Regions from separate parts of the Homo sapiens genome. Here regions 1, 2 and 4 are each linked to region 3. Evidence: promoter capture Hi-C in 16 types of primary human blood cells and fetal thymus (Javierre and others, 2016). All regions are on one chromosome and are shown on one strand. The core of a region is centred on a gene start or on the middle of the fragment in contact, and the rest is flanking DNA. Distances in the headings are between cores, read along the strand shown. Region 1 holds the start of SEC14L3 (SEC14 like lipid binding 3). Region 2 holds the start of CASTOR1 (cytosolic arginine sensor for mTORC1 subunit 1). Region 3 holds the start of CABP7 (calcium binding protein 7). Region 4 holds the start of SEC14L4 (SEC14 like lipid binding 4).

Region 1 (6,612 bases), core at 2,484-4,983, 750 kb before region 3:
AAGGATAAGCTTTCACTCTGTTGCCCAGGCTGGAGTGCAGTGGCCCTATCAAAGCTCATTGCAGCCTCAAACTCCTGGGCCCAAGCGATCCTGCCTCTGCCTCCCAAGTAACTGGGACTACAGGTGTACGCCATCATGCCCAGCTAATTTTTAAATTTTTTGAAGAGACAGGGTCTCACCATGTTGCCAGGCTGATCTCAAACTCCTGGCCTCCAGCAATCTTCTCACATCAGCCTCCCAAAGCACTGGGATTATAGGTGTGAGCCTCGGCACCTGGCTTCCATCTCCCCTTTTCAGGCCACCCACTTCACATCTGTGTGGTCTAAATGCCCCCTACTCACCTCCTCCCAGTGATGCCTGCCCTATGTCGAGGCTCCTGTACCCCCGGGAAGGGCCCCTTTAGACCTACCCAACTGCTTCTGGCAAGATCCATCCTGGGAGGGAGGGTGATCAGGAATGTGCCAGGGATGGACTGAAAGGGGTGGCTGTTTCAGATTTCCTAGTAACCGGCTGACAGGAGAGGTTGGGGCGCAAGCAGCTCTATCTACCCACCTGCGGTTGTTTGTTTAAGTTGTGGTTGTTGCCATGGTCCCCTGAGAGCTTGGTAAATGAGGAGCCAAACACACATGGGACCTTACCTGTAGACAGTGTGCTCTGGGGTTTAGGGGGCAGGCTGGGGGTCTCTCCTTCCCCAAGGCCTTTGTTTCAAGGCAGGCAAAATTAACCCTTCTGGCCCCAAGACACCCTGCAGCCTGAATCCAGCTTGAATCCAGGCAGATCCAGGCTTCTACACAATGACGATTTAAAGCATTTATTGAGCACTTACTATATTCTGGACACAATATTAAGCCCTACAGGGGAAAGCAGGGTGGGCTGTGCAATCCAGAGTCAGATAGGTTTGGGTTCAAGTTCTGGCTCCTCATTTACTGGCTGTGTGACCTCAGAAAAGTTTCTTGATCTCTCTGAACTTCTATTTGTTTAGCTGTAAAATGGGAATACCCATACCTGCTTCTGAATGATTTGATAATGATATAAAGCTCCCAGCACAGAGGGTATGCTCACCAATGGGAGACTGTGAGCTCTATGCAAGCTGGGTCCTAATCTGTCTTGTTTGCTGTAATCTACCCCCTCCACATGCTTCTCACTTTCCCACCTCCATGCCTTTGCCCATGCCATCCCCTCCACTTGGGATGCCCTTTATTCTGCTCTCCATAAATCAAAATCCTTCCTTTCTTCAAGGCCTGGCTCAGATGCCAACTGCATCACATATAGGTGACTTTCATGCTTAGGCTCTCTCCCTAACTAAGGTGGAAGCTCCTAGAGCCAAGACTATGGGATAGCATAACAGCACAATGGCAGAGTGGTTAATTGCATGGGTTTACCCCTGGATAAGTTACTTCTCCATACCTCAGTTTGCTTATCTGCATAATGGGCGTAATAGTACCTACCCAACACCACAGGTATGTTCTGAGGTTTAAATGAGGTAATGCACTGCTTTTTTCTTTTTTGAGATGGAGTCTCACTCTGTCCCCCAAGCTGGAGTGCAGTGGCATGATCTCGGCTCACTGCAACCTCCGCCTCCCAGGTTCGGGCCATTCTCCTGCCTCAGCCTCCTGAGTAACTGGGATTACAGGCATCCGCCATCACGCCCGGCTAATTTTTGTATTTTTAGCAGACACGGTTTTGCCATGTTGGCTAGGCTGGTCTGGAACTCCTGACCTCAGGTGATCCACCTGCCTCGGCCTCCCAAAGTGCTGGGTTTACACGTGTGAGCCACCTCACCAGGCCAAAATGAGGTAATGCATGTAATGAGACCCCATCTCTACAAAAAATATAAGAAATTAGCAGGGCGTGGTGGAATGTGCCTGCAGTCCAGGCTACTCCGGGGGGTTGAGGTGGGGAGGATTGATTGAGCCTGGGGAGGTCGAGGCTGTAGTGAGCCGAGATCATGCCACTGCACTCCAGCCTGGGCAACAGAGTGAGACCCTGTCTCAAAAATAAAATAAAATAAAGTAGAATAAAATAAAAATGGGCCACCTGCACCATCCAATATGGTAACCACTAGCCAGATTGAACAATTTAAAGTAAAATGTATCAAAATCCAATTCAATTAAAACTTCAGTTCCTCAGTCACGCTAACCATCTTTCACATGTAACTAGTGGCTACCAGATATGTCTAACAGGACACCCCAGACAGAAGATGTCTACCATCACAGGAAGTTCTGTGGAGTGGCACTGTAGCTGATGAGGATTTGTGAACATAGCAAGGTACTTGACAAATCTGTGGTCTGGGTCAGGAAAAGAGCTCAGTGTGAAGGCTCACAACTCCTGAGGAGACCCCCAACCCTCCCTCCTGGCTCTCCTTCACAGTCTCCGATGCCCCTAGAAGTAACTAGCACACCTCACATTATAGGGATTAGGGTGAGAAAGGAGACTGGTGAGAAATGGGCAGGATTAGTGGCTCGGGAAAGGGCAGTGGAGGAACCCAATCTCTGTACATTACTGGCCTGGCAGGAAGTGGGTGTAGACAGCAGCTGGGGCTTTGCAGAAATTGAGGCTGGAATGTGAAATGGGGCAGGGCTGGGGTGTGGAGAGTTACCTAACTGTTCCTGAGTACATGCCACGGGCTCCCCAGGCAGAGGGAAATGGCCAGCATTAGCCCTGCCTTCTCCTTCTGGATCCAACTCTGTGAGGAGCCCAGAGCAAGGAAGATGTCCCTGAGAAGATGTCTGATACTGACCAACATCTACTAGCCTAAAGAGACCCTGGGTTAGCCCAGAATAGAGGCCCACTGTAGCTCAGGGGTGGGTACCCAGGATGCCCCAGGAGTAGGGGACCTAGAAAAGCCCTAGGCAGAATGGTGTGGGCTAGCCCAGCTGCTGGGGCCGAGGCTAGCCCGGGGTTGGTTTCAGCCCATGCAGACCCCCTCAAGGCTGAGATGTGGCCATGTGGCCATGTGGCCATGCTGCAGCCTCAAGCTGATGGTTTCTTCAGAGAGAGTCATGGATAACAGGGTCTCTCCCTTCCTGGAGCTGAAGCTTACAGCTCCAGGGGGGACCAGGAGAGCTGAAGGAGAGTATCCCTCAGATGCACACAACCCTTGACAGTCCCTATGTCTCATTAGATCTTCCCTCTAACCACATAAGGAGGGGAAGGCAAACATTAACGGCCCCATTTTATAAATGAAGCAAGTGACGTTCAAAAGATGCCATCTGTCCTCTTCTTGACTGTGGACACAAAAGAAGGACCTGGGCCTCCCACCCCCAACAAAGTGAATGAACTGTTTACTACACTGACCAAGCCTCAGAATCCTACCCTTTCAGAGCTGGGTAGAGGGGGGTGATCTTTGCAGAATCCTAAGTGTGGGAAGACTGGGGCTCAGGGAGAAAGGGTACCCACAAGGAGCGGTCCTCATTCTCCTGAAACTCCCCCTTCTCCAGGGCAGTGGTCACTGGAGGCCTGGGAGGGTCAGCGGGTTCTACAGGCACTCACTCTGGGCTCCAAGGTCACGGGAGGCCAGCCTCCCTTCCTCCCAGCTGCCTCCTCCTGGCAGGGGACCTCTGGCACACGCTCCATGCCCGCCTGCCCCTCCAGATCTGTCCCCAAGCCAAGCAGGGGACCTCACTTAATCCCAATTATGTAATCTGCAATTTAAACAGTTGGCCCATGAGGAGGCGCTTGGAGCCACGCCCAGGAGTGGGGGCAAAAGGACCCAGCTGGGTCAGGGCTGACAAACTAGGCTTGGCCTCTTGCCTATAGTGGCCACCACTCCTCAAGCCCCAGCCAGCACCATGAGCGGCCGAGTTGGAGACCTGAGCCCCAAACAGGCAGAGACCCTGGCCAAGGTGAGAGCCCCTCCCCCTGGAGTTCCGGAAGACCAGGGGAAAGGGGCTGGGGGGTGGAAAGAAGTGGCTGGAATCCTGCCCCACTCAGTTGATTCAGCATGTCCTTGACATTGTCTCTTTGGTGTTACCTCCCAAAGGGTCAAGCCCCACGGTGCCCAGTAACATCAACCCTGTCCCGGGCGGGGGTTGAGGGACTAGCACCACTTCCAGGCAATAACGTGGGTGGTGCCCACCCAAGTCAAGCCTGACTTCTTCTCATCCAGGAGCCAGAACCAGAGAGGTTTACCTGGCAGCCAGGTACCCCCGTTCCTCCCTCCCAGGCACCATAGGTAGGAGCTGAAAGATGCTGCTGGTCTGCCCTTTAACCCCTTCCTCTTTGGGATCCTGAAAGATGACCAGTCTGTAAAAGCCCAAGAGACAGAGCAGAAAGTGTTGTCTTTCAAAGAGCTAAAGGAAGAAGAGGACATATAATTATTAACCATGTTTTAATAGAAGATGGGATGAAAAAAAGCAGATGTTTTGAGGGCTAACACATGGAGGGAACTAAGAATGCATCCAAACTCCAATCCACTTATTCATCCACCCAATTATTTATCCTTTCTTCTTCTTTTTCTTCTTTTTTTTGAGATGGAGTCTCTGTCATCCAGGCTGGAGTGCTGTGGAGCGATCTCAGCTCACTGCAGCCTCTGTCTCCCAGGTTCAAGCAATTCTCCTGCCTCAGCCTCCTGAGTAGCTGGGATTACAGGCATGTGCCACCACACCTGGCTAATTTTTGTATTTTTAGTAGAGATGAGTTTTCACCATGTTGGCCAGGCTGGTCTCAAACTCCTGACCTCAGGTGATCCACCAACCTCAGCCTCCTAAAGTGCTGGGATGACAGGCGTGAGCCACCATACCTGGCTGTTTATCCTTTCTTTCATCCACCCATCCCTCTTCCTACCCACGCAGCCACCTATCCATCTTTCTTTCTCTCAATCACCCACCCATCTCTCCTCTGTCCATTCACTGATTTATCCACCCACCCACTCTCCATCCATCCATCTATCCATTCATCCATTGATTTCTTCTCCCTTTTTCCATCTACCTACCCACTCACCCATCTATTCTTCTTTCTAACCATTTATTCATCCATCTATCCTCCTTCCATTCATCCACCTATCCAGTGATCCATCTGCCCTTCTATTCAACCATTAACCCATCCTTTCATCAATGTGGGCCATTTTGCATGTGGGAGGAAAGGAGAGGTTGTGAAAACAGTCTTTGAGTCTGGAGGCCAAGGCTCAATGTGAGAGAGCCACTTTAACCAGCATCTCTCTTGCCAGTTCCGAGAAAACGTCCAGGATGTGCTTCCTGCCCTGCCCAACCCTGATGATTATTTCCTTCTACGCTGGCTCCGAGGTGAGGGCAGAGGTGGGAGAGGTTGGGATCAGGGGGCATCAAGAGGGGCCTGGTCTCAACTGCTCCAGAGTGTCTCATGGCTCTCAGGGTCCATCCACACAATCTTGCTTCACATGTTCAGGTCCAGAGGAGGGAAGGGGGTAGGGGAGCAAGGTCTCACCCAGGCCCCCAGTGTCCTCCATAGCTCCCACTGGCCAGGAGTAAGACAAGGCATCTTTCCTGTCTCACACCTTCCTTCTGTTTTCCCACAGCTCGGAATTTTGACTTGCAGAAGTCGGAGGCTTTGCTCCGCAAGGTGAGACCTATCCACTCTGGAAATTTATGGAGGGGATTTGTCAGGGGCAATCCATGCCTCAAGCCCCTCCTTCCATCCCTGTTCTCAGGGCACTGGGAGCCCAGTGGGATCTTACCACTCATTTCCCTTTCAGTACATGGAGTTCCGGAAGACCATGGATATTGACCATATCCTTGATTGGCAGCCCCCAGAGGTGAGCCAACACCGCCAAACACCTCAGTCTTTCACGGACGTACCACTCAAGGTCACTGGGGACCATGAATGAGGGGCAGCAAGCCTGAGAGGCCTGTGGAACCCGCAGGCCTGCAGTCTCCTTTCCTACAGTCATAATGAATGTTTCCTGGGGGCTTGCAAGGTCCAGGCCTAGGTTAAGATGTTAGCAGCATGAGCTTCTTTAATCATCACAATGATGGATGCTATTGTCCCCATTTTGTGGATGAGGACACTGAAGCCCAGCAAAAATTAGGTAACTTGCCCACAGTCCCATAGCCCAAGGTAGGGCTGGGATTTATGCTCAGGCCTGTTTGGGCCCCCAAACCCAGGCTCGTAACCACCACGGTTAGCCTGTGCTTCTGCACCCCTGCCCCCTAAGGCATTGCCTAAAGCATCCTGTCTGGGTGGGAAAGAAGTTTAGCCCATCAAGGCACTGATGAGGACAGTGCCACCACTGGCATCTTAGTAGAGTAATGGTCACGTCTTCACTTGTAGGGCATGTACCCGGATCTGGGCACTCTGCTTTGCCAACTTTATCTCAGGGACTTTCCCCAACAGTCCCAAGAGTGAGGGGTTATCCAAACCATTTTACAAAAAAAGTAGGTAGAATGGAGCTCAGAGAGGTGGTGTCACTTGCTCAAGGACACACAGTACAGAAGCAGCAGTATCTGCTTTTTTTTTTTTTTTTTGGATGGGGTCTCACTCTGTTGCCAAGGCTGGTGTGCAGTGTCATGATCATGGCTCACTGCAGCCTTGAACTCCTGGGCTCAAGTGATTCTCCCACCTCAGCCTCCCAAGTCTACAGATGTGTATTACCACAGCTGGCTAATTTCTTTTATTTTTGTAGGGACAGGGTCTCTC
Region 2 (7,101 bases), core at 2,942-5,441, 570 kb before region 3:
AGCCTCAGCCCCAAGATCATGCAGGAGGCCTTTCTGGTCCAGGAGGTACAGCCCATGCCTGCCCCTTATCATGGGGAGGGAGGAAGACAGGTGGGGGTCCTTTGAAGGGGGTCCCGCTAACCCTCAGCCCCTGAGGGTGGATCCTATGCCAGGACCATTGCTAGGCAACACAGAACATGTGGGTGGACCTCATCCTTCTGTCTGGTGAAGAGCATGGGGCACAGAGAGGCTTGGCTCTGCAGGGCCTTCTGGATCCGAGCCGCTTGGGAATGAAGAAGAATGTTGACCCACGGCCCCGTCTTCCTCCCTGGTACCCCATTCGCAGCCTTGGCTCTTATTTCTCTTTGTTCTTTCTTTATGGATACTTGTCTCTCAGGGGCAATTAGGTGGAACATGCGTGACCAGCTTTTACACATGAGGAAATGGAGGCTCACAGAGGCAGAATCACTAAGCAACTCCCCTTAAAGTCACCCACCCAGGTGGAGCTGGAATTTGAGCCTAAGCAGCCAGGCTGCCCTGGGCAGCGGTGGGTGACAGGTTGGCAGAGAGCAGGTTTTTGTCTGTCTGGGTCTTACCCCTTTAGCCCCATAGTCAGGCAGGTGGACTCGTGAAGCTGTGGGCAGCTTTATCCTCTGAGGCGGTGGGTCTCAAGTGTCCAGCTCACCTGGCACTCAGCTGTGGGGCTCGTGACTGCAGCTTGGGACTAGACCCTCATCCTTCCTGGGGTCAGTGTTTAGTGGCCAAGGCTGGGGGATGCTGAGGAAGACTGGGGGCCCAGGCTGGGAGGCAGAAGGGGAAGGTCCTTCTTCTTGGTGTCCACTTGCCTGTGTCACTGCCCCTGCAGGTGGTGGAGTTGCCCGTGACAGAGCGCCAGATTGAGCGCGAACACCTCATTCAGCTGCGGCGCTGGCAGGAGACCCGGGGTGAGCTGCAGTGCCGCTCCCCGCCCAGGCTGCATGGTGCCAAGGCTATCTTGGATGCAGAACCTGGTCCCCGGCCTGCCCTACAACCTTCACCATCCATCCGCCTGCCCCTAGATGCCCCCCTCCCTGGCTCCAAAGCCAAGCCCAAGCCACCCAAGCAGGCCCAGAAGGAGCAGCGGAAACAGATGAAGGGGAGAGGGCAGCTGGAGAAGCCCCCAGCCCCAAATCAAGCCATGGTGGTGGCCGCTGCAGGAGATGCATGTCCCCCACAGCATGTGCCCCCGAAGGACTCAGCCCCCAAGGACTCAGCCCCTCAGGATTTGGCTCCCCAGGTCTCAGCCCACCACCGCTCCCAGGAGAGCTTGACGTCCCAAGAGAGTGAGGACACCTACTTGTAACCCTGGCAGCTAAGGCCTCCAGGGCGGGGTCTCCATATAACTACACGGTTCATGAACTGACATTCCACATCCTGCCCACCCTCTGAGGGCCAAGCTGCCTGGCCACTGGGCTGGGCTGGAGTCTGGCTGGTCCAACACAGATTCTGCCTGGTCCAACACAGATTCTGCCTGAGCCTCCTTATTTATTTTCTTTACAGTGGCACTCAGGCTGGCCCAGCCAGGGCAGGCAGAAGCTAGGGCCTGGGGGGTGGGGCCTCCTTCAGCCCCCTCCTCCTGGGGGATGCTCCCCAGGGTTAGGGTGCTGGTGTGAGGGGAAAGGGTGGGGTGTTCTTTGTGTAAAATAGAAACATGGTTTTGTACAGAAATAAACAGCCTTGTATAGAGAGCTCGTGTACAGCTAGGGGCTGGGAAGGGGGTACCACCTTGGTCACCTTGGTGCTCAGCATCTCTTCTCTTTGCCCTACAGAGCCCCTTCTCCTGGGCCCCAGCCCAGCACCAGAGCCTCTCTGAGAGGTACCTTTGCCAGAGGACATGCCAAGTCCCTGGTCAGCCCCCATTCTTAACCCCCATTTTCACTCACCCCATCCCCACTGCCTTATGTCTACCTTCTGCCACAGATGAGGGACACCAGGGCTGGAGCTCAGTGCTGGGCAGAGCAGGGCGTGCTCCCTAGGCCTTGGTCCTCACCCACCCACCAAGGGGGCAGGGACTCCTAAGGAGGAGGTTTCAGGGTCTTCCTCCTTCAAGTCCTGGCCTGGATGCTACCTCAGGCTCCAGTAAGTTTCTGAGAGCTGATTCTGGGTTGGGGTCAGGGACGGGGCCCGGAGTGGAGCACCACGAATGTCCTCACAGGCTCAGCCCAGGCCCTCAGGGAGGGGGGCGAATTGTGGTTCTTTGATAAAATGCCGCCTTCGATTTACTGCCAAGTGCCAGGCTGGACTGGTCAAGTAGGCTCCATTAGCCCCATTTAACAGACGAGGAAACAGGAGCTGAATGGGAAAGCCTCAGCCGGATTTGCACCAAGAGCCCCTCACTCAGCTTCCTCTCCTGACCAGGGCTCCAGGAGACCTGACTCTGCCCTTGAGGGCCCAGGCAGGCACTGCGGTCACAACCTGATGACTGGTGAGGGCAAGGACAGGGTGTCCCTGGGAGAGGCCCCCCTTCTGCTGAGGAAGCAGCTTTTCCAGTCAAACAATAGCGCTATTCCTGGCAGATGACCAAGCTGGGCCAGGCCAGGCCATAGCGGGAGGGGGCAGGAGAGGGAGGAGCAGAGCCTCCCTGGGAGCTTTCAGCCTTCGCCTGGGCCTGGAACATCCTGTCCTGGTACAGCTGGGGATACTGAGGCCTAGGGAGGTGAAGGGTTTCAAGAGACTATCAGGGTAGGCCACTCCACTTCCTGCCTCCTTCCCCTCAGCCCCATGGTTTCCCACTCTGTCTGCACCTGCCATTGATGAGATGGGCTCAGCCTTTGAGAAGCTCCTCCTTCCCCTAGTCCTCCAGGGGATAGGCCAGGATGTGGTGGCTACATAGTGTTTCACAGGAATGTGTCAAGCCCGAGAGTCCAGGGAGGAGGCTTAGCTTGGCTTCCATCTGCCTATGGTGGGGGCTCCAGAGCAGGCAGAGGGCCTGCTTAGGCCTGCTGGGTCCCAATCAGGCCTGAGGCCTGCTTTAGTCTACTTGGTTCAAAGCCTCACATCTGAGGCCTCAGGGTGCTCAGGCCAGGCAAGGGTCCCCTGGAGCATTCTCAGCCCTGCATGGAGCCAACATGGACATGCTGATGCCTGCTTAGCCTTGGGGGGGTCTTAGACCTGTGAAGGCCTGATAAGATCTGGGGTGTCTGCCAGTGCCGGGGGCCTCCTTGAACCTGAAGCAAGTTTAGATGTGCACAGGCTAGCTAAGGGCTGCAGGCTTTGGGGCTCAAGTTTCAGGCTTGAGGTCTGAGTACTCACTGAACCTCAGCTGCAAGGGCCTCCCCCACCAAAGTCTGAGCACTGGGCATTACTGGCTCAAGCACTTCCGGGTTTTGTTGGTATCGAGGGACCTCAAGCCTTAGGCCTTGGCCACCTGCAGCCCCCTAACCCAAAGTATGTCGCTCAGGCAGAGGTGGCTAGGATTCTACCTCTGTGTGCCCCTGGTGAGGAGCCTTCTATTTTGAAAGTTGGATGAAAGGAACAAGTGGGGCTACCAGGCCAGGTTTCAATTTGTCAGCCCCCTCGCAAGCGGGGAAGGGTAGGTATCAATCGCAATCCTGTGTTGGCGGCCCTGCCCCCTGCAGCCATGAGAGGCAGGAGAGCGAAAGGCGCCCGGGGGACAGCGCTGCACAGCAGACCTGTGCCTCTCATTGCTCCGGGGATTTGGGGGCAGCGTTCTGGTCCTAGCCGAGCTCCAGTTTGTTTCGTGTCCCTTCTGTCTCAAGGACTTCAATCATGAAACCCACGTGTGTGCCAGAAGGACAGAAACGTCCCCTCCGGGATGCTCCCACCGGCTGCGCAGCTGGCTTTCCGCGGAAAGGGCGGAGCCCAGGGAGGGGGCGCGTCAGGGGCGGGGCCTGGAGGAGTCAGACGGGGTGGGGTCTATCCCCGAGCCAGTACTAAAAAAGGCGGAGCCGTTCGGGGCGGTCTCGGTGGGCTGGCTGGAAAGCGGGATGAGGTTCTGGCGTTAGGAGGAGGCGTGACCACCCAATAGGCTTCTCTTCCCGCGGGGCGTGGCCGTCAAGGAGCCGGACGCCGCGCCTGGCTGGGCGGGTCAGCCTCGCAGCGGGCGGCGTGGACGCGGCAGCGCAGCGGCTCCTTTAAGGCTCGGGCACCACCCCCGCCGCCCCGCCTCCCGTGCGGCCTGGGTCTAGTTGGCGGCGGGGTCGGGTCCGCGCGAGCCGCGATGGAGCTGCACATCCTAGAACACCGGGTGCGGGTGCTGAGCGTCGCCCGTCCCGGTCTCTGGCTCTACACCCACCCGCTCATCAAGCTGCTCTTCCTGCCCCGCCGCAGCCGGTGCGCGCCCGGGTTCGGGAGCGCAGATAGGGGCTGGGGGCTCTGCTCTCGCTCCGGGCCAGGGTCGGAGGATTAGGATCGCCGTAAGGCAGGCAGGCAGGCGGGCGGGAGCGGGTGGGGAGGACTCTCCCCGTCCGGCCGCCATCCGGCCTGGGGGACCGCCGCCTATCCGGCCCCGTGAGGCCCCCTCCCAGGGGCAAAGCGCAAACAGCCTGGGATGGGCAATGCTTAACTCAGTAGTGTCAAATGGGGGCATTCCTACCTGGTCACTGCGGGGAGCTCCTTCCAGGACGCCTCCCTTCATGTCAGAGGGGCTGGACTAGGGGGTCCAAGGTCCGACGCCCCTGGGGCTGTCGCCGCGGGTGTGAACCTCTCCTCCCTCCAGGAGTGGAGGGGTGGAGGGTTCCTGGAGAGGTCGGGAGGCCGGAAAGTAGCCCCCAACCCCCGAGATGGGGCTAACATCCCATTGGCCTGGAAATTAAAGGCCGAGAGGGCAAGAAGGCGCCCGGCCCAGGGTCGCGGGGGTGTCTCGGGGCAGATGGAGAGAAATCCACTCCCGACCCCTAGTTCTCCACACCAAGCTGAAGATGCTCCCCACCCCCAACCAGGTGCAAGTTCTTCAGCCTGACGGAGACCCCTGAGGATTACACGCTTATGGTGGACGAGGAGGGCTTTAAAGGTGGGGGTTGGTCTGGGGAACGGGAGTACGGGAGGGGCTTGTCGTGCTCCCCTTCTGTAGGGTTCTCACCAGTTGCTGGGATCCGTCCCAAGAGCTTAAGCCTTAAAAGCAGATGGGTCGGGGTTCGAATCCTACTCCACCACTCCCTGGCTGTGTGCCCTTGAGCAAATCACTTTCCCTCTCTGAGCTGTTTTCTCTTATGTAAAATGGGTATAGTTATGGTTCTGATACATAGGGTCCCATGAGGCCTTTATAAACTTAAAACCGCTGAGGGGCACTCAGCAGTCTTAGGCCTGCAGAAGGGCCTCTGTTATGATTCCAGTCAAGTGCTGCTGTTAGAAATCCCTGGGTATTATTTCCTCCTGGTCTTACTCTCTGGTTTGGGTCACCTCCTCCCCTGCTGGTCTGGAAACTCCAGGAGTCTGAGGGAAGGAATGCAGGAGCAGGCAGCCATCTCAGGGGAGGGTCCTGGAGGCCTCCTGGCTGTGCTGGGGTGAATAGCAGCCACCCAGGCCCTGGCCCCAGCTCAGGACTGGACGCCAGCCTGGGCCCTCCCTGGGGCCTGGAGCTGACGCCTAGCTCCTCCTCCTGCTGCTGGCCCTGCCCATCCTCACAGGCTTGGAGTCTCAGGCCAGCTAGCTGGAGCTTAGCCTGTCCCCATGCTCCACTGCAGGCCTTAGTTTCCCTGTTTTTACTTCAGAAGTCTGGGTCTGCAAAAGGGGAAGGCAATCCCCCAGCCAACCTGATCTGCGAATGCCCCCTGGTGGTGCCATGTGGTACAAAGCTTCTGCTAACCCACAGAAGACACCGTAGTGAGGTAGATATTGTCGTCCCATTTTACAGATGAGGAAACTGAGACTCAAATCACCCACCCCAGGTCATAAGACAAATTAACAAAGCTGGGATTTGAACCCAGGTCTGTCTGAATCTGGACCTCTGATCTTAAGTGGGAAGTTTCAATGCCACCAGGCCAGCACTTGAAGCCTTTCTCAGTCTTTGCACACATAGGGACTTCAGGAGCCCCAGCCTCCAGACCTGCCCTTACCTTGATGGAGCCCTCCAAGGCACAGAAAGGGAAACTGAGGCTCAGAGAGGGGCAGGGGCCAGCCTTGTAGACCCTGACCTGACATGTCCCCTGCCCACAGAGCTGCCCCCATCTGAGTTCCTGCAAGTAGCTGAGGCCACATGGCTGGTGCTGAACGTGTCGTCTCACAGCGGTGCGGCAGTGCAGGCTGCTGGGGTCACCAAGATCGCCCGTTCGGTCATCGCGCCACTGGCCGAGCACCACGTGTCTGTGCTGATGCTGTCCACTTACCAGACGGACTTCATCCTGGTGAGTTTCCTGCTGGTGCTGATGCAGAGCAGGGTGGATATAGGTACCTGGGAGCCCATGTGATGTGCCATCTGCTGTGGCCCAGGTGCGGGAGCAGGACCTGTCCGTGGTGATCCACACGCTGGCCCAGGAGTTCGACATTTACCGCGAGGTGGGCGGAGAGCCTGTGCCTGTGACGAGGGATGATTCCAGCAATGGCTTTCCCCGCACTCAGCATGGTGAGGGCCGCCCCCTGACACTTGGACTTGGGCAGGGCCTCCTCTTCCCACTGGGTCCCTTCCCTTTTGGGCCCCAGTGGGGCAGGAGGACCCCGGCCAGTTCCTGGATAGCAAGACCTGCCCCTGGCCCACGCCTCTCCCTGACTAGCCACCAGGGGGCGCCCCAGCCCACGGACACCTTTTCACCTGCTGCTGTCCTCCAGCAGGGCCCAGCCCCACGGTGCATCCCATCCAGAGCCCACAGAACCGCTTCTGTGTCCTCACACTGGACCCTGAGACGCTTCCAGCCATCGCCACCACCCTCATAGATGTCCTCTTCTACTCGCACAGGTGGACCTTGGAACTTCGTCTTTGTCCTCACAGCACTGTTCCCTACACTCTGTCCCACCACTTTCCGCCCATCTATCAGTTTTGCACCTCTTGCTTGTCCTCTCTTGGGGTTCCTGGCAGCCCATGATGCTCACTTGTGCTTCACTGATGTTCGGGGAAGGTTCTTGCCCCAAAGCTGGATCCCTTTCCAGTGGGGTCGTCTGAGCCATGCCCTGGTCTGGCCCTCTCAC
Region 3 (6,963 bases), core at 323-2,822:
AATGAGCCTCCAGATCTCAGAGACCCCTGGATCCAAGGTACCCCGAGAGGCCCATCCTCTGGGTGAGCTCAGCCCCTTGCAACAGCAGACATGCAGATCCCAGGAGGCCGTGACCCCCATCAGCCCAGATCCCCCACTCCACTCCATATGGGGGCTCCAGGAGGTCTGGGGGGAGGGGAAACCTCAGCACCTCCCCCAGCCCAGCAGGGAAGGAGCTGGGCGGGCCCCAGGGGTCTCACTGCTCCTCAGGACACACTGTCCCGGACCCCTGCCCCTGCCCTCTGCTCTGACCTCGCCCAGCCAGCGGCCTGCCATCCCCCTGCGAGTCTGAGAGGCAGGGGGAACGGGGTGGGGGCGGGTTTGGGTCCTGGCCTCTCTGCCTTTCCCTTCCAGGCTTGGCTATCGCGACTTAGCCGCCCAGTCCGGCCACTTGTTGTCGCCACCGCCTCCCGGGCCGCCTTCCCGGCGCGCCGGGCTGGGGGTCCCCGCAGGGCTGCAGGGAAGGGGCTACGGCCGCAGGTGGGGACGGGGGCGGCCCCGCAGCGGGCAAGAGCAGGGCAGTCGCCCTCTCCCCTTCTGCTGCTGCCCGAGCAGATTGAATTTTTAAAGCGACACGAGCGGAATGTCAATGCGAGCAGAGAGCCGCGGGCGGGCGCCGCGGAGGGGATCAGGATGCGGGTGCTCCGGCCGGGCCGGCGCTGGGGGCTCAGCGCGGACCCCCGCCCCAGTCCGCCGCGTTGCCGCACCGTCACCGCCGACTGCGCGGCCCCGTGACCCCGCTGCGGGGCCCGGCAAGTTTCCGCAGCGCTGGGGACCACGCGGGCAGGGGCTGGGCCGCTCTCCGCCTGAGCGACCCCCACCGCGGCGCCCCGGGGTGCGGACAGGTCTTGCCGCGGGGCACAGCTGCTAGCTGGGGCGCCCACCTGGCAACCGGCACCTGCGGACCGCCCCCCGCCCCCCGCCCCCGCGCCCCTGGCCCGCGCTTCACCTGGGCGCACAGGTAGGAGGGCCGCCGGGGCGGGGATCCCGGCGGACACTCACCCTCCAGCTCGTCCTCCGGGATGTCCACCGGGCGCTGCTCCGACAGCAGGTTGGGCACGGTGTAGATGCCCCGGTACATCAACGCCGCCGTCACCGGGTGGAACGGCATCTTGGAGGCTCCGCGCCCGCCCGCCCGCCGCAAACTTTGAGGCCGGGGCTCATGGGCCGGTGGCGGCCCCGGGGGCGGCTGGAGCGGGCGGGGCGCGCGGCTGCGGAGGGCGGCGGCGGCAGCGGCGAGGCTGGGGACGCCCCTCCGGGGGCCTAGCGCCCCCGCGCCCCGGGCCGCCGGGCCATGCCGCCCGCTCCCTCGTCGGGCTCCCAGCCGGGGCCCCGCAGGGGCAGCGGGGGCGGCGCCGCTCTGGCCTTTCCGAGAGCTCCGGCTGCCTCGCGCGGTGCCCGCCGCGCCCGCTCCTCGGTGCCCCGCGCGCTCCGCGCTGCTCGCCGCCCGCTAGTCCGCTCGCCGGCGCGGCCGCTACCGGCCCGGCGCTCAGGCTGTAGCCGCCTCTCCGCTCGCTCGCTCGCTCGTTCTGTGCCGCGCTGGCTGCGCTCCCCGCCTCCCCCGCCAGCCGCCCGCCCGCCCCCTCCGCGCTCCCCACCCCCAGCCCGCCCCTTCCCGCCGCCGGCCCCTGAGCGGCCGCCCCAAACCTGCCCGGGGCTCCTTCTCCCCTTCGGCCCCGATTCCCCTTTCCCACTAGGGCTCCCCTCTGTTCACTGGCTCTCCTCACCCTAAGTCTGCAGCCACCAGGACCAGGGAGGGGGTGGGTTGCGGGGGTCCTCCTTCCTGCCCCTTGGCTCACCTTCCCCCATCCACGCACCAGGAGCGGAGAGCCCGGAACTAAGAACTGTAGACCCAGAGAGGTGAGACTGGCCCCAAGCACCTGGGTCCTCAAGAAGAGTCACCGTTTCCGTGCCAGGAGGATCCAAGGTGGGGAAACTGAGGCTGAGAGAGAAGGACGTTGACCAAGGTCACAGGGCAGGAGCAGCAGGTAAGAGCTGGGTACACGTCTGGGGTAGGCTTCCTGCCCTGCCTGTGACTGACACCCTGCCGCTGACCTTGCTCCCCACAATGGGGCCCCAGTCCCGGACCCTTCCCAAGCCCCTACCTTTCAGCTTGCAGAAGAGGAGCCAAAGTGTCTCATGGCCCCCAGGGCAGTTCGGGACAGAGACATGGCCCGGTGCCTGTGGGGTCTGGTGTGAGGGCCTGCCAGTTCACATGGCTGCAGCTCAGACCTAATGTATGTGCAGGGCTTCCCCAGGCCCCAGGGCACGTCGGCACCCCAGAGCTGGGGTGGGGGCAGGTGTTTGAGGGAGCAGCCTGCGTGTGCATATGTCTGCTATCCATGAGGGTGTGTATGTGCCACTGGGCACGTGCGCAGGTGTCTGTGACTCCATATGCAGATGGACAAATGTCGGGAGTGTGTGGCCACCTGTGTGTGCCAAGGTTGTACGCTGGCAGGTCGGGGGAGGTGTGCAGGCCCTGGGGCTGGGAGTGGTGTGGGCATATGGTGCACAGATGTGCATGGGAGGGGGTGACCTTCTGGCCTGGCTGTGGCCCCATCTCTGGGTGCTTCCCTGAATCCCCCTACTGGGACCACCTCCCTGCCCCCTTTGGCCCAATCAGCTAAAGGTCCCAGCAGGAACGCTGATTGCACAGCCCTGCCCGGTCCTGCCCTGCCCTTCCCAAGCTGATTACACTTTTCTGCTTGTTTCTGTTTTTGTTACTGATTAATCGCAGCCTTGTCTCAGGGTCTGGGGAGAAGGGGCTCAGTGAGAGATGCTAGCCCCAGCCAAGCGGGGTTGGGTCAGCCTGGGCCCAGCACTTCCTGGGCCCTGCTCTGGAGGGAGCTCCTAGAAACATCTATAACCTGCGGAGGAGCCAGGAAGGACACCAGCTGTCTGTCTGTCTCCCCAGACCTCTCCGGGCTAGCTGGTTGCCCACTGGGACCTGGGCCTGGAGGTGAGAGAGGCCCCAGAAAAGCTCCCACCCCACTCCAAAGCTCTCCTTGCCCACCTGTCCCATCTTCTGACCTTCCACCGCTAGAGCTGAATGCCTTGAGCTTCCCCAGTGTTTTTGATGGAGCAGAGACTTGAGGAAGTAAGAACCCAGCACCAAGAGCCAGGCAGACTGGGGCTTCTGCATCCACCATCTCCTCACCATGGAACTACAGTCAGGTCCCTTAACCGGCCATAGCCTCAGTTTCCCTGCCTGTTAAGGTGGCAGTGCCACATCCCAGGCAGCGGTGAGGATGAAGTGACATAATGTAGGAAAGGTGCCGGGCATCACCTCCCTGAAACTCTTGGGAGTTTCCTATTAGCATGAACATCCCCCCCAAGGAATAGGAATTAATAATAATTATAGCTTCGAGTATTGATTGAGAGAGCGAGCCGCAGCAGCAGCTCAGTCGTTCCACGTTTACTAAGTGTCCAGGCTGTGCCAGCCCAGGCCTGTCAGTTCTAAATCAGAACCCCTGGGCCAAGGGAGAGTGGGCTAGAGCCTGCTGAGAGGCTGGCAGGAAACCCAGCTCCCAGTGACTCCCTGGGAGGCCGCTGCAGAGCGTGTTGGTACTCGCCCTGTGAAGGGGAAGCTCCTGGGCTTGCTGTCCAGGTGGGTATTTTTTTTTATTTTTTTAGGTGGAGTCTTTCTCTGTTGCCCAGGCTGGATTGCAGTGGCATGATCTCGGCTCACTGCAACCTCCGCCTCCCAGGTTCAAGTTATTCTCATGCCTCAGCCTCCCGAATAGCTGGGACTACAGGCACATGCCATCACACCCAGCTAATTTTTGTATTTTTCGTAGAGAACATGTTGGCCAGGCTGGTCACAAACTCCTGACCTCAAGTGATCTACCCGCCTTGGCCTACTAAAGTGCTGGGATTACAGGCGTGAGGCACCACTCCCAACCCATGGTGGCTTTTTTTTTTTCAAGTCAAGGGAATTCCAGGGGTCAAGAGGAGGGTGGGCAAAAGCTCAGAAGTGTGAGAGGGCCTCTCTTAGCTCTGAAGGGCAGGTCTGGGTCTGGGTTCTCCAGATCTCCTACGCTTGGCACAGGACTGGAATGGGCTAAGGTGGCTGGGGCTGGATGAACATCTGTCAAATGAATGAACGAGAGAATTAGTGAATGAACGACTGCCCGCTCACCACCGCCCCCCGCCCTTCGGCATTGCAGCCCCGTCCTCTCCTCTGTGCGTCACGGGGGAGCAGATGGCATGATCACAGGGTGTGAATTATGTCTGTCGCTCCCCCATCTGGGGAAGGTGCTGCTGCCATCACACTGCACTCTCTGGGGTGCCCACCGGGAGATGCCTGAGCCTCAGGTCCTCCCAAGAGGGGTTCTCCACAGGCCTTGCTAACTAATCATTGGGTCAGGAGGCTAGAGACACTGGGAGAGGTGACACGCTGAAACCTGTGATTCCAGGGGGGTTCCCCAAGTGGGAAGGAGACAAGGGGAGAGAGGTGGGAACTGCCATGTTCAGAGGCCAGACTCTTCCCTCCCTGAGACTGGAGCCCACTCCTTTCAAGAGCAGCACAGTCCCTGCCCTCCCTGGCCAGAGACCTCTTGTCCGAGGCCAGCATCCTCTTGCCACATTCAGCACCAGGGAGAGCTCCCAGCAGAGCTCAGGGCCCAGCTGTGTAGAGTGAAGCTGTGGAGGGACCCACAAGAGCCGGCCAAGGCTATCAATGAACCCATTGTCCAAACGAGGAAATCAAAGTGAAGAGGGTGTAAGCTTCAAGTTCAAGATCATGCTGGGACCAATAATTGCAGCCCTACCCAAGCCAGGGCTCCTGCTGGGGGAGAAGGTACTGGAGGAGGGGAGGTAGTGGTGGTAGGGAGGGGATGTCCAGGGAGGGCAGAGGCTATGGCCTCTGCTCCTAGGCTGAGGAACAATATTGTTCCAAGAACGCACTGGGGACAGTGTCTGGAGGTGAATAAAATATTCATTGTCCGGGCAAACTCCCGAAGTCAACTAATGAATAATGGAATTTATAGACTCAAAGATGCACACCGGGCTGAGAGGGGGTGCAGGCCAGAACCCAGAGGCCCCAACTGCTCAGATCCCTGCTCTTCTCTGGCTACCCCCCTCTGAACGCCCACATGCCCAGCTCTTGAAGGTGACAGGAGCGGAAAGGACAACAGGGAACAGAGTCCATGTGAGGGAAACAGAGTGAAGGGGACAGGCCCTTGAATTTGTTGCTATTGGGGGAAGGAACTTGGTGATGGGAAAAGAGCACTGGACTCGGAGTCCAGTGCAGCTGGGATGAAGTCTGACCCCTGCTACCAGCTCTATGACTTGAGTGTAGCCCCTGCCCTGGTCTCAGTTTTCGTCCCTGTAAAATGGAGTTTATGCTGCCACCACACAGCTTGCTGCAGGGATCTGCTGAGGTGACAGTGCTTGGTGCTGCTGTCCGAGGCTGGACCTTCTGAGCCTCCCTCTCAGGCTCAGGGCCCAGCTGCGGAGGGTGAAGCTATGGAGGGACCTAGGAGAGCTGGCCAAGGCTATCAATGAACCCATTGTCCAGACAAGGAAATAAAAGTGGAGAGGGTGTAAGCATCAAGTTCAAGGTCATGCCAGGACAGTATCCCCCGGCTGCACTGGGTCCAGCTGGAAGGGAGGGGAGACATGGTCCCCAGAGGAAAGAAGCTGCCAGCCCTCAGGGCAGGGATGATGTCAATAACTGCAAAATCCTGGCTCACCCTGCCACACATTCAAGTGCACTGCCCTGTATCCCCCCGAAAGGTTCTGCTCCCGTTGGTCTGGGCTGGGAGCAGAAACTTGGGGGGTGGGGCAGGTATTCTTCTAAAGCTCCTCTACGTGCTTCCAGGGTGCAGCCAGGGTTAGAACCAATGTTCCAGAGGGAAACTGAGTCTGGATAGGGGTAAGAGGAGCCTGGGGATGTCCCCGTTAGGAAATCACAGAGATCCTGTCCCTGGCGTCCTCTGGGCCTCCACCTATGCCCGGGGCCTGGCGGGGCTGCTGGCTGGGAGGCTGCCCCAGGGATCAGAACCTTCACAGATGGGAGGGGGACCATGGGTACTGCAGGCCTAGCCCTTGCTCCCAGACCACTTCCTGAGTGACAGCTGCGGCAGCTGGCGGGAGACGAGGCGCGAGGCAGCTCCTAATTGCTCTGGGCTCCCAGATCCCTGCCTCAGTCTGTTGCCTCTGATGAGACGCTCAACCAACTTGCCTGAGGCGGCTGCTCCCTGAGAAGAGGCCCAGCTCCCATCTGCCCGGGCATTAGCCTAGGGTGATAGGTGGAGGAAAGTCACCTCTCCTTGCCAGGTCCTGGAGCAGGGCGAGGCTGGGACCCTGCAGTCCCCCAGGGCCTGTCCCCCTCCTCTCTGCATCTCTCTGTGTCACATAAAGGGCTTGTGCATAAGCTTCCACTTCAACCAGGAGCTGCGCAGGTGTTGAAATAGACAGACTTTAGGAGTTTGTGGGTAAATGAATATTTATTTCACCTCCAGACACTGTCCCCAGCAGGTTCTTGGGACAATATTGTTCCTCAGCAAGGAGCAGAGGCCATAGATTCTGCCCTCCCTGAATACCCACTTCCCACCACAGGTACCTCCCCTCCTCCTTCTCTCCCAGCAGGACCCGCGGCTCAGGTAGGGCTGTGATCAACAGTCCCAGGATGACCTTGAACTTGGTGCTTACACCGTCTCCACTTTGATTTCCTCCTCTGGACAATGGGGTCATTAAAATATCCAGGTGCTGCCAGGTCAGCTTTGTGGCCTTGCCCGGCACACCCTGCCCCCCAGGGGGCACAAGCATGGCTTCATTAAGGGGTTCATCAAACCCCTGGGAATATCACTGGACCTCTGAGTTTTGGTGCCTCACCTGGGAATAAGGGCACCTGTTTCTCAGGATGATTAAGAGACGAGAGACGCTGAGCCCAGGGCCCAGGACAGCACAAATATTCCGGCG
Region 4 (6,470 bases), core at 455-2,954, 790 kb before region 3:
GCTCACGGCCACTGGGTTAGTCCTTTCGGGACTAGAGCTTGGTTTGATTCCATGGGAGGACAGAGGGAACAGGGTCTTGTGGCCTGTTTTACTCTCTCCTTCATCTTCACGTCCCCTCTACTCCTCTCTTGAAAATTCACACCCAGCCAACTTCTGTTTTCTTTTTTTGAGACAGAATCTGGCTCTGTCGCCCAGGCTGGAATGCAGTGGTGCCATCTTGGCTCATTGCACCCTCAACCTCCCAGGTTCAAGCAATTCTTGTGCCTCAGCCTCCTGAGTAGCTGGAACTACAGGCGTGGACGACCACACCCAGCTAATTTTTGTATTTTTAGTAGAGACAGGGTTTCACCATGTTGGCCAGGATGGTCTCAAACTCCTGACCTCAAGTGATCCGCCTGCCTTGGCCTCCCAAAGTGCCAGGTGCCAGGATTGCAAGCATGAGCCACCGCGCCTGGCTGAACTTTTTTCTTGCTTTTCCTAGTGATCTCCGCCTGGCTCTCTTGTGTCAGCCAGAGTGGCCTTTTGGCTCTCCGCCCACTCTGTCACTCTGCCCAGGGCTTCCATTGGTCCACGGCTGGCACCTTGCATGCCTCCACCTTCAGACTGTGGCTCTCACCCAGGAGCTCCGCACTTGGGACACCCTAGGATCTCCACCCCTGCAGCTCCCAGCTCTGGTGACAGCCTCAGTAATAACACAATTCTGAAATATATTCCTACCAGCCAGCACTTACTGAGCAGGCAACGCCAGACATTCTGCTGACCCAGGGTGCGTCCTCTTATCCTTCCAACCATCTTGAGGGCAGGAACCATTTTGCACATGAGGCTGTCCTATCAGTCAGTGAGCACTGACAGGTCCCAGGCTGTGTTCAAGGTCAGGGGAAGGAGCTTGGGGGTCATTAGACAAAAGCCCTGGGGGTCCTAGAGGGTTGAGCCAGGTTTATTAAAAATTCCTCCATGTTGGCCAGGTATGGTGGTTCACATCCCTAATCCCAGCACTTTGGGTGGCGGAGGTTGGAGGATTGCTTGAGGCCAGGAGGTCCAGACCAGCCTGGTCAGCATAGCAAAACCCGGTCTCTATTTTATTCAAAATAAGAAAAAGAAAAAAAAAATTTTTTTTTTTTTTGAGACGGAGTCTCACTCTGTCACCCAGGCTGGAGTGCAGTGGCGCGATCTCGGCTCACTGCAAGCTCCGCTTCCCGGGTTCACGCCATTCTCCTGCCTCAGCCTCCCGAGTAGCTGGGACTACAGGCGCCCGCCACCACGCCCAGCTAATTTTTTGTATTTTCAGTAGAGACGGGTTTTCACCATGTTAGCCAGGATGGTCTCGATCTCCTCCTGACCTCGTGATCCGCCCGCCTCGGCCTCCCAAAGTGCTGGGATTACAGGCGTGAGCCACCGCGCCTGGCCCAAAAAAAAAAAAACATTTAAAAAAAAATTTCCTCCATTTTGCTGGAAAGAGGATCTCAGTGTATTCCCTTTCCTGCCACCTGCGAACAGGCGGGAGCCCCCGCAGTAAGGAGGCCTGGAGGTGGCTGCCTCCAGCTGCCCCAGGCCACTCTCCCGGCAGGTCACCTCCCTGTCCCAAGTAGGGTGCGCTTGGTGACCGCAGCAAAAAATCCTGGAGAGGAGGAGAGAACTGGGCGGGGCGGGGCAGGCCCAGTGCCTCTCCCGTCGGGGCGGGACCAACATCTGGCCCAGGAGGCACAACCAGGCGGCAGCGGATACAAGGCCAGGCGGCGGCGGGCGGGCGGACCTGCGCCCTGAGCCTTTCTGCGCCCGCGGGCACCATGAGCAGCCGAGTCGGGGACCTGAGCCCCCAGCAGCAGGAAGCGCTGGCCAGGGTGAGGAGCATCGCGGGCTGGGAGGCTTGAGGAGGGGCCCTGAGCAGCCTGGCACTGCCCAACCCGGCTGGAGCCCCCATGGTACAGACTGGAACACCGAGCCTGGAGAGAGCGCCTCTGTTCTGCCCTCTGGTCCAGCGTGCGGTTGTTGAGGCGGCTACGTGCAGCACGCGGGACAGGGGCCCATCTCTGCGTGACCAGGAGCCGAATCCAGTCTTCTGACCTTGCGTGCTCTCCACCACCCGGCCCTGGTCCTTGTTCCCCGGTTGTGGGGGAGGGAGTGGCGCTGCCATCCGGCTGCGGGGGCAGCCTTGGGTAGACAGACTGCTTTTCATGTCCAGGTTGCAACATTTGTTTGTTTGGCTTCTCTTTGTGATTTGTTCTTAGGGCCCAAGCTTCTCTGTAATCTTTTTTTTTTTTTTTTTTGAGATGGAGTCTTGCTCTGTCGTCCAGGCTGGAGTGTAATGGCGCAATCTCGGTTCACTGCAACCTCCACCTCCTGAGTTCAAGCGATTCTCCTGCCTCAGCCTCCCAAGTAGCTGGGGCTACAGGTGCCCGCCACCACACCCGACTAATTTTTGTATTTTTAGTAGAGACGGGGTTTCACCATATTGGCCAGGCAGGTCTCTTGGACAGGCTGGTCTCGAACTCCTGACCTTGTGATCCATCCGCCTTGGCCTCCCAAAGTGCTGGGATTACAGGTGTGAGCCACTGCGCCCGGCCTCATATTTCTAATCCCAAATTTGGATTCACAGATTCACCTTCAAACCCAGCCTTTGCCTTCAGCTCTGTTGGTCCCCAGGGAAGTGAGATCTCCTCTCTCTCAGACGCAACAGATGCCCTGATAAGGCATTCCTGGCTTCTCTTTCAGCCCCTGTCTGTTGACCTCTGCCTCTGTTTTTTTTCCACAAAGCCTCCATTGTCCGGGGCATCAGGCAGTCCACGCTGGCTGAGTGCTCACATATATCTGACACCTGCTCGGAGCCAAGCCTGCTAAGTGTTTTACGTGCACAGACTCCTTTGATTGGTACAAGTTTATTTTTATCCCCATTTCAGAGATAAGGAAACTGAGGCTTAGAGAGGTTTGGTAACTTGCCTCTAAATCTAAACCCTCAAGATGCAGTATCAGGGACAACATTCCTAAAACCGCCTAGCTGGCCTGCATCAGACTCTCCCAGGGATCCTTGTAGAAATAAGGCTGTCAGTCGGGCATGGTGGCTCACGCCTGTGATCCCAGCACTTTGGGATACTAAGGCGGGTGGATTGTTTGAGCCAAGGAGTTTGAGACCAGCCTGGGCAACATAGCAAGATCCCATCTCTACAAAAAGTACAAAAATTAGCTGGGCATCTTGTGTGCCTGTGGTCCCAGCTACTTGGGAGTCTGAGCTGGGAGGATCTATTGAACCCGGGAGGCACGGGTTGCAGTGAGCCAAGATCACGCAACTACGCTCCAGCTTGGGCGATAGAGTGAGATCCTGTTTCAATAATAATAATAATAATAATAATAATATAAAAATAATAATAAAATAAAAATTAAAAATAAGGATGCCAGGGCCCCACCTTAGACATGTAGAATGGGAGTCCAGTGTGTAGGGCACTCCCAAATTTTGGGAAGGACCCAACTCTTTTTCCTATGTTGGGCTGGAGGGTGCCCTATTTTCAGATGGCAAAGTCGTTCAGGGCAGCACCCTGCATGGTCTTCTGGTGGAGTTGACTGGTGGATGATGTGGGAAGGGTTAGGGGCGGGGTTGGTGGCCCCCGAGGTCATGAGAGCTCCGCCGACCATCAGATCCTCCTCCGCTCAGTTCCGGGAGAACCTCCAGGACCTGCTGCCCATACTGCCCAATGCTGATGACTACTTCCTCCTGCGCTGGCTGCGAGGTGAGGCTTGCAGGGGTCAGGGGACGCAGAAAGGGAGGGAAGGAAGGAGGGTCTCAGGAGAGGAGTGGGAGACTTTGAGGGAATGGAGCTGTAGGGTAGTAAAGAACACAGGCTTGCCGGGCCCGGTGGCTCACACCTGTAATCCCAGCACTTTGGGAGGCCGAGGCAGGCAGATCACCTGAGGTCGGGAGTTCGAGACCAGCCTGACCAACATGGGGAAACCCTGTCTCTACTAAAAATACAAAATTAGCTGGCTTGGTGGCACATGCCTGTAATCTCAGCTACTCAGGAGGCTGAGGCAGGAGAATCGCTTGAACCCGGGAGGCAGAGGTTGCGGTAAGCCGAGATCCCGCCATTGCACTCCAGCCTGGGCATCAAGAGTGAAGCTCCGTCTCAAAAAAAAAAAAACAAAAAAACAAAAAACACAGGGTCTGGAATCAGCCTGCTCTGACTAGAATCTGAGCTCCCCTGTGTATGAGCACAGCACAAAACCCCACTGAGCCTCAGTTTCTTCATCTGTCAAGCAAGGATGAGGCAACAGGTGGGCACAGAGTCCAGGTGAGGTTACAGTTAACAGCCAGGACATCCTCAGGCCTCTGGCCTGGCCAGCCCTTGGGGCAGATGTTGCAGAGCACTGTTTTCAGTACTTGCCTTTGGGTGTACCTCCAGTTCCCCGAGGACAGGGCTCTGTTGTCCCCTAAAGGAACCGAGGTGCCCTAGTGCACTGAGCAGGTGCCCAGCAAACACTTAAGGAAGTGGATTTAGCGAATGCTAGAGAAGCAGTTTCTTCTAGGAATTACAGCAGCAGTCTAAAAAAATAATAACAAGCCAGATGCGATGGCTCACACTTATAGTCCCAGTGCTTTGGGAGGCTGAGGCAGGCAGATTTCTTGAGCTCAGGAGTTCAAGACCAGCCTGGGCAACATGGCGAAACCTCATCTCTACAAAAAATACAAAAATTAGCCGGGTGAGCTGCCGAGCACCTGTAATCCCAGCTACTCAGGAGGCTGAGGTGAGAGGATCACTTGAGCCTGGGAGGTGGAGGATGCAGTGAGCTGAGATTGTACCACTGCACTCCAGCCTAGGCGACAGAGTGAAACCCCATCTCAAAATAATAATAACAGACACTGCCCCAGAGCTTAGGGAAAAATTCATCTTAACTCATTACACCTCATGGAATGGATTTTGAACTTGAGATGAGTGAGAAGTCAGGAGTCAGCCCGGAAAGCATACATACAGTGCAGGGTTTAAAACGCTGGCTTTGGAATTGGGCAGAGCTGTGACTGAGTTCCAGTGCTAGCATGTGCCTGTGGCAAGCCAGTCATTGTCCCAACCTCACTTTCCTCTTCTGTGTAATGGGCATAATACTGGTCCCTACCTTCAGGGCGCTGTGAGTCAAATGAGGTCGCAGATGCACACAGTACCTGAGAAAAGGAAGTCCCTACCAGGGACTAATTCTTCCTCTGATTTGTTCTGTCTGTTTTTGTTTTTTTGTTTTTTTTCAATATTTTGGCCAGGCCCTGTGGTTCACGCTTGTAATCCCAGCACTTTGGGAGGCCGAGGCGGGCAGATCACTTGAGGCCAGGAGTTCGAGACCAGCCTGGCCAACATAGTGAAACCCCATTTCTACAAAAATACAAAAATTAGCTGGGTGTGGTGGCACGTGCCTGTAGTTCCAGCTACTCAGGAGGCTGAGGCACGAGAATCACTTGAACCCAGGAGGCGGAGGTTGCAGTGAGCGGAGATCATGCCACTGCACAACAAAGCAAGACTCTGTCTTAAAAAAAAAAGTATGTGTATGTATATATATATATATATATATATATATATGTGCGTGTGTGTGTATATATATATAAAAACTTTAATTTTTAGAATAGTTTTAGATTTTCAGAAAATTGCAAATATAGTGCAAAAAGTTCCCACATACTCTGCACCTAGTTTTCCTTATTATTAACATCTTCTTCTTATGATGATGATGGTACATTTGTTAGAATTAATAAACCAATATGGATACATTATTATTAACTACAGTCCGTATATTATTTGGATTTCCTTCATTTTTCTCTTCCAGGATCCCATCCAGGATCCCACATTATATTTAGTCATCTTGCCCTCCTTAAGCCCCCTTGGCTGTGGCACTTTCTATTTGTTTTTGACAAGGAAATATGTCATTGCCCCCAGCCTGGACCAAAGAAGGAGTTGGGACAGTTGATTTCTTGAAGCCCCTTGATACAGCATCAGCTCTCTCTCTTCCTTTAGTATCTTTTTGGGTTTAAAACCCAGCTTTTGGGGTGCTTGGTGTGCCCTTGATAAAGGAGTGAGATTGCAGATACCTAGGCTTCCAGGTCATAGGAAAGAAAAAGGATCCAAGATTGGGAAGGGGGCTGGGTGTCCTGATGCCTCCCACCTCATGCCATGGGTGATGGGACCTGCTGGCATGGCCCCGTCGTCCACTTCAGCGTCAGCTCCGCTAGTCCCGGCCTCACTAACCCAAGACCCAGGCAAAGGGGAGGGCTACTGCTGAGGCTGAGCTTGGTAGAGGACCCTCTCCCGGGCCTCATGCTGAGGGGCTTTTCCCAACCCTCCTTCTGAAGTTCTTTTCCTTTGTTTTTATTTATTTTTATTTTTATTTTTTGTAGACACAGGGTCACAGGGTCTCACTACATTGCCCAGGCTGGTCTCGAACTCCTGGACCCAAAATGATCCTCCCGCCTCGGCCTCTCAAAGTGCGGGGATTACAGGTATGAG

What was found. Contacts are between HindIII fragments. The CHiCAGO score rates a contact against its expected background, and 5 or more counts as called.
Region 1: a contact is called between the fragment with the promoter of SEC14L3 here and the fragment with the promoter of CABP7 in region 3, in 2 of 17 cell types (activated CD4 T cells and M0 macrophages). The highest score is 7.0, in activated CD4 T cells.
Region 2: the fragment with the promoter of CASTOR1 here is called in contact with the fragment with the promoter of CABP7 in region 3 in 4 of 17 cell types (erythroblasts, M0 macrophages, M1 macrophages and 1 more); the score reaches 6.7 in erythroblasts.
Region 4: a contact is called between the fragment with the promoter of SEC14L4 here and the fragment with the promoter of CABP7 in region 3, in 1 of 17 cell types (activated CD4 T cells). The highest score is 7.0, in activated CD4 T cells.

Annotation. Positions count from the first base shown.
Region 1 is chr22:30,469,138-30,475,749 of GRCh38, reverse strand. SEC14L3 (SEC14 like lipid binding 3) reads left to right here and starts at 3,733. Exons shown (of 12, transcript NM_174975.5): 1 at 3,733-3,845; 2 at 5,168-5,243; 3 at 5,495-5,538; 4 at 5,672-5,731. The coding sequence starts at 3,792. The HindIII fragment of the contact is 8,474 bases long and covers 3,041-6,612 here.
Region 2 is chr22:30,286,595-30,293,695 of GRCh38, reverse strand. CASTOR1 (cytosolic arginine sensor for mTORC1 subunit 1) reads left to right here and starts at 4,191. Exons shown (of 9, transcript NM_001037666.3): 1 at 4,191-4,311; 2 at 4,920-4,990; 3 at 6,136-6,323; 4 at 6,409-6,541; 5 at 6,748-6,871. The coding sequence starts at 4,199. TBC1D10A (TBC1 domain family member 10A) reads left to right here. Exons shown (of 9, transcript NM_031937.3): 8 at 1-45; 9 at 845-1,706. The coding sequence ends at 1,321. RefSeq lists an enhancer at 2,874-2,933 and silencers at 3,814-4,253, 4,454-4,533. The HindIII fragment of the contact is 5,917 bases long and covers 1-5,776 here.
Region 3 is chr22:29,714,612-29,721,574 of GRCh38, reverse strand. It overlaps CABP7 (calcium binding protein 7), which reads right to left and starts at 1,572. Exons shown (of 5, transcript NM_182527.3): 1 at 1,042-1,572. The coding sequence starts at 1,150. CABP7-DT (CABP7 divergent transcript) reads left to right here and starts at 1,672. Exons shown (of 3, transcript NR_186695.1): 1 at 1,672-2,027. RefSeq lists an enhancer at 1-263 and a silencer at 4,548-4,748. The HindIII fragment of the contact is 23,163 bases long and covers 1-4,766 here.
Region 4 is chr22:30,500,929-30,507,398 of GRCh38, reverse strand. SEC14L4 (SEC14 like lipid binding 4) reads left to right here and starts at 1,704. Exons shown (of 12, transcript NM_174977.4): 1 at 1,704-1,841; 2 at 3,647-3,722. The coding sequence starts at 1,788. RefSeq lists a silencer at 1,643-1,937. The HindIII fragment of the contact is 5,471 bases long and covers 1-2,238 here.